Regions from separate parts of the Homo sapiens genome. Here region 1 is linked to region 2. Evidence: promoter capture Hi-C in 16 types of primary human blood cells and fetal thymus (Javierre and others, 2016). All regions are on one chromosome and are shown on one strand. The core of a region is centred on a gene start or on the middle of the fragment in contact, and the rest is flanking DNA. Distances in the headings are between cores, read along the strand shown. Region 1 holds the start of ANGEL2 (angel homolog 2). Region 2 holds the start of EPRS1 (glutamyl-prolyl-tRNA synthetase 1).

The links. The method cuts DNA at HindIII sites, captures the fragments that hold promoters and counts their contacts. A CHiCAGO score of 5 or more calls a contact.
Region 1: a fragment that was not itself captured here is called in contact with the fragment with the promoter of EPRS1 in region 2 in 1 of 17 cell types (activated CD4 T cells); the score reaches 5.2 in activated CD4 T cells.

Annotation. Positions count from the first base shown.
Region 1 is chr1:213,015,448-213,020,545 of GRCh38, forward strand. ANGEL2 (angel homolog 2) reads right to left here and starts at 420. Exons shown (of 9, transcript NM_144567.5): 1 at 166-420. The coding sequence starts at 224. RefSeq lists enhancers at 1-433, 146-455. The HindIII fragment of the contact is 881 bases long and covers 1,867-2,747 here.
Region 2 is chr1:220,042,343-220,047,835 of GRCh38, forward strand. EPRS1 (glutamyl-prolyl-tRNA synthetase 1) reads right to left here and starts at 4,163. Exons shown (of 32, transcript NM_004446.3): 1 at 4,001-4,163. The coding sequence starts at 4,046. RefSeq lists enhancers at 3,316-3,873, 3,915-4,244, 4,305-4,374. The HindIII fragment of the contact is 10,455 bases long and covers 1-5,493 here.

The DNA.
Region 1 (5,098 bases), core at 1,057-3,556, 7.0 Mb before region 2:
TTGGTCTCTGGAGGCTCGTCCCGGATGCACCATCGCCCAGACCCTCTTCCTCTTCCTTCCACCCCTAGCCCGCCCCGCCCCGCCCCGGGTTAGTCCCGGACGCCCGCCCGCTCTTTCAGGCCGCCCGCCCCTCTCTCCTCCCTCCGAGTACCCAGCCCTACTGACCGGCCTCTTCCCACCACACAGTGGCCGTAGCCCTTCCTCACACAGCGCCAGGCTTCCATCTTCGCCCTCCGCGTGCGTCCAGTTCCCAGGCCCCGGGTTCCACCTCAATCTCTATAATCGATGCGACGGCCTAAAGTATCTAGGGAACCCCATCACTCTTAAGTACCGACTCCAGTCCTGGCTGCAAGGCATGCTGGGAGGTGCAGTCTCGCCGGCCGGCCTACACTCCATCTTGCGCAGTCAGAGTCCCTGAATGCCTTAACCCGGAATTCTGCTCAAGGAGCATGCGCAGAGCGTGGGACGCGCGTGCAACCATTTCTGAAGAGGGCAAAACACCCGAACTTCGTCTTAAAGAAACAGAAATAAACTTTCTTTTTTTTCTTTTTCTTTCTTTCTTTCTTTTTTTTTTTTTGAGATGGAGTTTCGCTCTTGTCGCCCAGGCTGTAGTGCAATGGCACGATCTCGGCTCACTGCAACCTCCACCTCCCGGGTTCAAGCGATTCTCCTGCCTCAGCCTGCCAAGTAGCTGGGATTACAGGCATGAGCCACCACACCCGGCTAATTTTTGAATTTTTAGTAGAGACAGGGTTGCACCATGTTGGCCAGGCTGGTTTCGAACTCCTGACCTCAAGTGATTCGCCCGCCTCGGCCTCCCAAAGTGCTGGGATTACAGGAGTGAGCTACCGCGCCCGGCAGAAATAAACAGAGCAGTGAAAATTTTTAATTGCCCAAAGTGCAGATTCCCAGCTGAGGCTGAACAACGCATCCTCTGGGTGCCCATGGAACTGAGGTACCACAGAATTTTGCAATTAATGTTGCGGAAGCACAGCCATAGCTCTCACTTTAAAATGTACGTGTATGGGCCGGGCGCGGTGGCTCACGCCTGTAATCCCAGCACTCTGGGAGGCCAAGGCGGGCGGATCACGAGGTCAGGAGATCGAGACCATCCTGGCTAACACGGTGAAACCCCGTCTCTACTAAACATACAAAGAATTAGCCGGGCGTGGTGGCGGGCGCCTGTGGTCCCAGCTACTCGGGAGCCTGAGGCAGGAGAATGGCGTGAACCTGGGAGGCAGAGCTTGCAGTGAGCAGAGATCGAGCCACTGCACTCCAGCCTGGGCGACAGAGCGAGACTCCGTCTCAAAAAAAAAAAAAAAAAAAAAAAAAGTACTTGTATGTCTTGTGTGTCCACCTTTATTAAATGTATTATAGGACTGTAGATTGTTGAAAGACATTATTTAAGTGGAGACCCTGCAAGAAACAGGAAGAGAGAAACCGAGAAAGAATAAAGTGTGGAGAGTAGAGGGGAAAAGGATACTAGAAGGCAGGAGCACTGCTTTTATAGGCTCTTTGAAACAGTGGTAATTTCTTGGGAAGGCTTTTCTTATCCCTGGTGCATAAAAGGAAGTAAAGTGTATTTGAAAAAAACCTTTCCCTCAGTATGTAATTGATTCTTGTTATTTGCAGTAGTTAGGTTCTGTAAAGTTGCTGGAAACACTGAATTAGTAAATACTGAATCATTACTCCTAAGGGAAATACAGGATTAGGATCCTGTAAGCCTCTGGTCGCATTTTCATCAACTTAATCAATACATAGTTTTGTTGTATGTGTGTTTCCGCTTAAAGACATCTTATTTAATATATATTGTTGATTCATTAACATTGAACTCAGTCAACAGCACTATAATTCATACCTCAACAAAGCTTATCTAACACTGCTATTTTCTCTGCAAGGCTCATGACAGCCTTCTTGTGCTTAGGAGCACTATACAGCACAACGCTTGGGGACCATTTTAAACAGCAACATCAACAAAAAGTACAAAAACGTGAAAAACATATCACTAAATGGAATGTGAAAAGGACACTTGGTCCTGATGGCTCACGCCTGTAATCCCAGCAATATGGGAGGCCAAGGCGGCTGGATCGCTTCAGCCAGGGAGTTCAAGACCACACTGGACAACATGGCGAAACCCCGTCCCTACAAAAAATACAAAAATTAGCCGGGCATGGTGGCTCTCGTCTGTAGTCCCAGCTACTCCAGAATTTGAGGTGAAAGGATTACTTTAGCCCGAGAGGGCGAGGCTGCAGTGAACCAAGATAGTGTCACTGTACTCCAGCCCTGGCAACAAGGGGACACTATGGTATAGCATGAGAGCTGAAACAAAAAGGCAGAGAATGCCTTGTTTAGCCTCAGCTGGGAATGTGCACTTTGGGCAATTAAAAATTTTCCCTGCTCTGTACATGTCCAAGAATACATGGAGGTTACAGATCAATTTTAGCAAGTAGGCAAATTTGCAAATATGGAATCCACAAATAATGGAGAAAGACTGTATTTCTGTTTTATACTGCCCTATTTTCTAGTTGTACTCACAATTTTGTAGTTCATTAAATTGACTAGTAGTTTACTGTATGTCTTGTCTTTATAATGAGATTGTAAATAACTTCTGAGGAAAGACCATGACTCATTATTTCCAAAATTTACTTGACCTAGTGCTGTGCTAAGTACACAATATATAGTAGTAAAAATATTTTTGAATGAATGGTTAACAGTGGGCCAGAACTTGGGACTTGTGAATGACCAGAAGCTTTTTCCTTTAGCACACCCTAAGAGGTAAGGAGAAATGTAACATTTTTAAATAAGTAAAAGAAATTAATAGATATCTTTTCATGCAGTGTTGGAATTTGGGGGTTTATCTGATCCTAAAAGATATTTGCCTTTATCTGGGCCTAGACTATTGCAAAGATTAAAGTTAACTTGCAGGGCGCTTGTGGCAGTGCAAATGATTTTTGTCTATGGACTTGTAAAATAATTCTACCTAGTTGGGGGGAGAACTCTCCATCTCTATGGAAAAGCCAGTTTTGGCTGCCTGCAGTGGCTCACACCTGTAATCCTAGCACTTTGAAAGGCTGAGGCGGGAGGATCACGAGGTCAGAAGTTCGAGACCAGCCTGACCAACATGGTGAAATCCGTTCTCTACTAAAAATACAAAAATTAGCAGGTGTGGTGGCATGCCTGTAATCTCAGCTACTCAGGAGGCTGAGGCAGGAGAATCGCTTGAACCTGGGAGATGGAGGTTGTAGTGAGCCGAGATCGCGCCACTGCACTCCAGCCTGGGCGACACAGCGAGACTCCATCGCAAATAATAATAATAATAATAATAATAATAATAATAAATTAAACAACAACAACAACAAAAAAGCCAGTTTTGCACCATTTGCAAGATCAATATTTCTGATCTATAAACATGTCTGCTCTTTGGATTCTCCTTTGAACAGGTGATAACATCTGTCTGGTTCACCTATGTAATGAGTTAAATAAAATGGCTGGGTGCAGGGGCTCACGCCTGTAATCCCAGCACTTTGGAAGGCCAAGGCAGGCGGATCACTTGAGGTTAGGAGTTCAAGACTAGCCTGGCCAACATGGTGAAACCCCGTCTCTACTAAAAATAGACAAAAATTAGCTGGGTGTGGTGGCTCATGCCTGTAATCCCAGCTACTTGGGAGACTGAGGCATGAGAATCGCTTAAATCCAGAAGGCGGAAGTTGCAGTGAGTCAAGATCGCACCACTGCACTCCACCTTGGGTGACAGAGTGAGACTCCGTTTCAAAATAAATAAAATAAAATGACTAATGTGTTCGTATTATATCTGTTTGAGAGTCATGATTTTACCTTTTTTTTTTTTTTTGGAAAATTATCTTTTAAAAGTTCAGTAGTTCCCACCAAGATGCCCAATGTATTCATCTGACAGAGGCAGGTGAATTTTATCACTGTAAAAGTACACTTCATGGATTGCCTGAGTTCTGGCAATTTTCTTGCTCCCAGAGATAAATCTAAAATGGCAAAAGCATGTTGCTGAGTCTTTGTTTTTCTAATTTTTATTTTCTTCTCCAGTAATTGTGTGTTTTTCTTTGGTTTGTAGAAGCATATCTTGTGTTATTGTGCTTCACTTTATTATGCTTCACAGATACTCTGTTTTTTGCAAATTGAAGATTTGTGGCAACCCTCCCTTTTGCAATTCTATTGATAACGATTTTTCCAACAGCATGTGCTCACTTTCTTTCTCTGTATAACATTTTGGTTATTCTCGCATATTTCAAACATTTTCATCATTCTTATATCTATTATGGTGATCTGTGATCAGCGGTCGTTGATGTTACTATTGTAATTGTTTTGGGGCACCACAAACTGCACCCATTCAAGATGGCAAACTTAACAAATGTGTGTGTTCTGACTGCTCTGCTGACTGACCAACCATTCCCTGTCTCTCTCCCTCTCCTCAGGCCTCCATGTCCCCTACACAATATTGAAATTAGGCCAATTAATAACCCTACGATGGTGCCTAAGTGTTCAAGTGAAAGGAAGAGTTACAGATCTTTAAATCAAAAGCTAGAAATTATTAAGCTTAATGAAGGGATGACAAAAGCTGAGATAGGCCCAAAGACAGGCATCTTGCACCAAACAGTTAACCAAATTGTGAATGCAAAGGAAAAGTTCTTGAAGGAAATTAAAAATGCTACTCCAGTGTATGAAGGCATGATAAGAAAGCAAAACAGCCTTATTGCTGATATGGAGAAAATCTGAGTGGTCTATATAGAAGATCAAACCAGCTACAACATTCCCTTAAATCAAAGCCTTGTCCGGCGTAAGGCCCTAACTCTCTTCAATTCTATGAAGGCTGAGAGAAGTGAGGATGCTGCAGAAGACAAGTTGGAAGTTAGCAGAAGTTGCTTCATGAGGTTTAAGGAAAGAAGCTGTCTCCATAACATAAAAGTGCATGCGGAAGCAGAAAGTACTGTTGGAGAAGCTGCGGCAAGTTATCTAGAAGATGCAGCTTTGATTACTGATGAAGGTGGTTATAATACACAACCGATTTTCTGTGCAGATGAAACAGCCTCTGTTGGAAGAAGATGCCATCTAGGACTTTCATAGCTAG
Region 2 (5,493 bases), core at 2,913-5,412:
CGTGGTGGCATGTGCCTGTAGTCCCAGCTACTTGGGAGGCTGAGGCAGGAGAATTGCTCGAACCTGGGAGGTGGAGGTTTGCAGTGAGCCAAGATCGTACCACTGCAGTCCAGCCTGAGCAACAAGAATGAAACCCCATCTCCCAAAAAAAAAAAAAGAAAAAAGAAAGAAAGGACAGAGTCCAGGTTGGAGGGGCTTCCACTGGCAAATCAGGGTAATGACATCGAAATAAATGAGATCAATTTTAGCACACCCATACAATGAAATTTTATCCAGCAAATAAAAAAATGAACTACTGGCCGGGCGTGGTGGCTCATGCCTGTAATCCCAGCACTTTGGGAGGCTGAGGGGGGCGGATCATGAGGTCAAGAGATCGAGACCATCCTGGACAACATGGTGAAACTCCGTCTCTACTAAAAATACAAAAAATTAGCTGGGCGTGGTGGCATGCGCCTATAGTCCCAGCTACTCGGGAGGCTGAGGCAGGAGGATCACATGAAACTGGGAGGCAGAGGTTTCAGTGAGCCAAGATCGCACCACTGCACTCCAGCCTGGTGACAGGGTGAGACTCCATCTCAAAAAACAAACAAACAAAAAACAACATCAACAACAACAAAAGTAAACTACTGTCATAGACAAAAAGATATATGAATTTCAGAAGTATTATCCTAGGCACATATGAGAATATAAGAATATATATAATATGATTCAATGTATATGAAATTATAGAAAAAGCAAAAAAGTGACAAAAAGAAGATGAGTCGCTATTAGGTGCTAGGAGTAGGGAAAGGAATGACTGCAAAGGGGCGTGAGAGGACTTTCTGAAGTAATGGAAATACTCTACATGATGACTGTGGTGTAGATTACACACTTGTCACATTTGTCACATTGTACACATTTGTCAATCACTTAAAATTGGTGAACAATTGTATACAAGTTATAATTCAATAAAACTAATTTTTAAAAACAAAATAATTTTAAATAGAAAATGAAAATAATACAAATTGTAACTTCTTGAGTATTTTTGCTATGATTTTTTTAAATGGGAAAAAGAGAAAGCTCTCCTCACAGAAAAATGCCAACTAATACATACAGAAGGAATGGTAGAATGGGAAAGTCACTATCTCGCAAACATCATAAAATCATAAAAATCAAGTTAGGCAGGAAGTATCAATGGATACTGAAACTAGTGGGTGAAGATCTGATGCAAAGTGGAACATTTACATGATTCCAATGCATCTGCCCATTAAAATTAAGGTTAGAATAATCAGTAATGGGAAAATTAAATTCATGCACCAACTGATGGGCTGCAATGAAGAACAAGGAATAACTACGCTATTCCTGCCAAAAACAAAGAGCCTGAATCTAGACACCAGGAAATATCAGACAACTTAAACAGAGGATATTCTTCAAGTTAAGTGGCCTGTTATCTTCAGAAAGGTCAAAGCTATGAAAGCCAAGGGAAGACTAGGAAACCATTCCAGACTGAAAGAAACTGGAGAGAGGTGACAATCAGATGCAAACAAAGCATAATACGGGATTTTGATCTCAACACTATGGAGGGTCTGGTTGTAACAAATAATGATAGAACAAGGATGGGGTCTGTGCATTAGATGGAAGCATTGTATCCAAGTGTATTTCCTGATTTGGGTGCTTGTGTGAGATCACCTGGAGTTTCCAAGTTTGTTGGGGATGTACACTGGAGTTATGCTGAGATACTGAAGCCTCATATCTACAGTATGCTCTTGGGTGGTATGGGGGAAAAAGGTCTTTATTTTAAGTTTGAAATTAACATTAAATATATAACATGATGAATGCATACAAAATAGGAAAATTCTAGCAATGCAACTATTATTTTAAAATGTTTCATCTAATTATATTACTTAAAGATAAAATGTAATTGAATTAAACTGGGAATAATTAAATCAAAAATTAAAAAGGGAGAGGAGCAATTAGAAAAATGATATATTTGATAACTGGCATACAGTTCAAAATGACAAGAGTTTCACAGAATACTGGCAGAATTCTGAGTTCTGTAATACACTACAGAAACAGGCCACCTTCAGGGTGATTTTCTAAGTAACAAAAAATGTATCAGGAGGCTGGGCATGGTGGCTCACACCTGTGGTCCTGGCACTTTGGGAGGCCAAGGCGGGCGGACTGCTTGAGGTCAGGAGTTTGAGACCAGCCTGGCCAACATGGCAAAATGCTGTGTCTACTAAAAAATACAAAAATTAGGCGGGCATGGTGGTGCGCACCTCTAAGCGCAACTACTCGTGTGGCTGAGAACAAGAATTGCTTGATCCTGGGAGGCAGAGGTTGCAATGAGCTCGGTCTCCAAAAAAAAAAAAAAAAAAAAAAAAAAAAAAAACAGTATCAGGAGCTTTAACTATAGTCTCACTTAACTCTGGCAACCAATCCTATCTGGAAGACATTATTCTCCCTTTCTTAAAACAAGGAAACTATGGGAGAAGCTAAATAAGGAACTTGTCAAGGTTTCACAACTAGTAAGTGGCAGCCAGGATTGGACTCAGGTCTGCAGAAACCAAATGTCTTTGCTCTCAATCATGAAGGCACTCTAATGCCTTTCCAGCTCAGGAATCAAACCCATTCCTTTTAGAGTTCATTGATTTGTTGTGCGGTTAGTCCATTACTGCAACCAATATGCCAAAACATTACCATCTTTTAAATGTTTAAAATGGCTATTAAGTTGTGTTTTTGTTCAACAACCTTAAAACATCACCAAAGTTGAGAATATAATGAATAATTTCATCAGCCCCACGTGGTCAACTGTATATAAAGGTATGGGCTTCTTCAACATTAGAAAGTACTGTGTGTGTATTATCATACATATGCATTAACAAATATTAGGTCAGGCTGGGTACTGTGGCTCACGCCTGTAATCCTAGTACTTTGGGAGGCCAAGTCAGGATGGCTTGAGCCCAGGAGTTTGAGACCTGCCTGGGCAACACAGTGAAACGCCATCTTTCCAAAAAAGACACAAACACAAAATTAGCCAGGCATGGTGGCACGCGCCTGTAGTCCCAGCTACTAAGGAGGCTGAGGTGGGAGGATCATCTGAGCCCGGAAGTTCGATGCTGCAGTGAGCCTTGAAAGCGCCACTGCACTCCAGCCTGGACGATAGAGCAAGACCCTGACTCTCAAAAGAAAAAAAAAAATCGGCAAACTACTTAAATTCTTCTGTGTAATTTCCCAAAGTAATGAAAAAGCAGAAATTCTAAGCAATCTACCAACAATAATCTTGGTCATGTCGAAAAAATAATTCCAAACAGAACTTAAGATGTGTCAGTAAGGTGACAGATCCAATGTTTACTCTGAAATTTACTACACATCCACAGGGTGCAGTAAAAGCAACCGCATCAGTCTACAGTGTACCTGGGTGTTTTCCCCAATTACCCTACCACATTTAATTAAAAATAAATGCAGCCTCAGTTGAAATCCTAAATGCTAATATGCTCGTCTGGGTTATTTCTTCTGAACTCGATAAAACGTAAGGAAAATTTGACTCAAGTGAACTGAGGATTTCTCCTGAGAGGAGGGACAGGACAGGAAAGGAGGTAAGAAAAGGAGTTGGGGGAAAAATGCTAAAAGAGAAGCGACGACTATTGGATTTTAAGTTTTAAAATCTTATTTCCACGAGCAACTCTCGCTCTCCGGGGGAAAAAGGGAGAGGTGAGTTGACTGGGAGTTCATCCCTCTGAGAAAAAGATCCGAAGCGGAGTCTCGTGTTGTCTAGCCCGGGCTCACACTGCGCCTCCCTCCATGCCCGGGAAAACCATCTTCAGGAGCAGATGCACCTGCCGGGGACACGGGGCGAGGGGTGCGGAGCCTCCTCCACGTACAATTCTGGGGCGAGGGGCAGGTCCAACATCCCAGATGGTGACCACCACTGCGCAAAGCCGGGGCGCAGCGACCTTCCACGCCCTGCACCCTCCCTGGCTGATGCAACCCACACAGGTCATTGGTCTCGGCCCCTTACCTAGCGGAGGGTCTCCTGAATTCACGGTCAGAGAGAGCGTCGCCATCTCCACCAGTCCGCTGGTCCACCTGTCAGTACGCCTGGCTCGTGCCAGAACTACGGAGGACCCCGCGAAAGGAAGAAGATGCAACGTGTGCGCGTACCCGACGCCGCCGCAGCCTTCGCTCCGCCCCTGCGCCGCAGCTACTGCCGACACCGCGCACGCCGCGGTGCGACATCGTCGCGCGCCGTCTTCGTCCCCGCCCGCAGGTTCCAGAGCCTGCTACCCCTCCTCTTGGCCGCCAGGGTTAGAACGGCCTGCGTGGCCTTTCGTGCTGCGGTGGGAAAGACGCTGAAGTGGACGGGACTTTACGACACTTCGTCAAGTCAGCAGGTCGTAAAACAGCAGGTTGTAAAACCATCTTTAAGATGGGATAGGCGTTTATGTGAAGCACGAAACAAAAGCATGCACTGTCTTTATGTAAAAAGAAAAGTCCTGGAAGCATACACACGATAGCCATGATTACGTTGGGAATGGGAGAAGTTTTTCTCGTTGTTTATTTTATACATTCCCCCCCGTTTTTTTTTTTCCAAAACAAGAACGTATTTTCAAGAGTTATTTGCGTGTTGAAAATAATGGTTAAAGGAAATATAAAAGACTCTTTAAAAATCACTGCAGGCCGGGCGTGGTGGCTCACGCCTGTAATCTCAGCACTTTAGAAGGTGTAGGCGGGCGGATCACCTGAGGTCAGGAGTTCGAGACCAGTCTGGCCAGCATGGTGAAACCCCATCTCTACTAAAAATACAAAAATTAGCCTGGCATGGTGGTGGGCCCCTGTAATCCCAGCTACTTGGGAGGCTGAGGCAGGAGAATCGCTTGAACCTGGGAGGTGGAGGTTGCAGTGAGCCGAGATCGTGCTACTGCATCCAGCCTGGGCGACAGAGTGAGACTCCTTCTCGAAAAGAAAAAAAAAAAAAATCACAGCAGAGGCCGGGCGCGGTGGCTCAGGCCTGTAATCCCAGCACTTTGGGAGGCCGGAGGCGAGCGGATCTCGAGGTCAGGAGTTGGAGACCAGCTTCACCAACATGGTGAAACTGTAGAGACGGGGGTCTCTACTAAAAGTACAAAAATTAGCCGGGAATGGTAGCGCGCACCTTTAATCCTAGCTACTTGGGGAGCTGAGGCAGGAGAATCGCTTGAACCCGGGAGGAGGAGGTTGCGGTGAGCCGAGATCGCGGCACTGCACTCCAGCCTGGGCGACAGACTGAGACCCCGTTTCAAAACAAACAAAAAATCACTGCAGATAGGCGCAGTGGCGCGCTCCTGTAGTCTCAGCTATTAAGAAGGCTGAGGCAGGATCGCCTGAGCCCAGGAAGATGAGGCTGTAGTGGCCTCGCCGTGGACTTGCCTGTGAGTAGCCACTACCCTCCAGCCTGGCCGACACAGGGAGAGACCTGATCTAAAAAACAAAACAAAAAAACCCTCCGATGCCGCCCCCAATCATGGAGTCCAC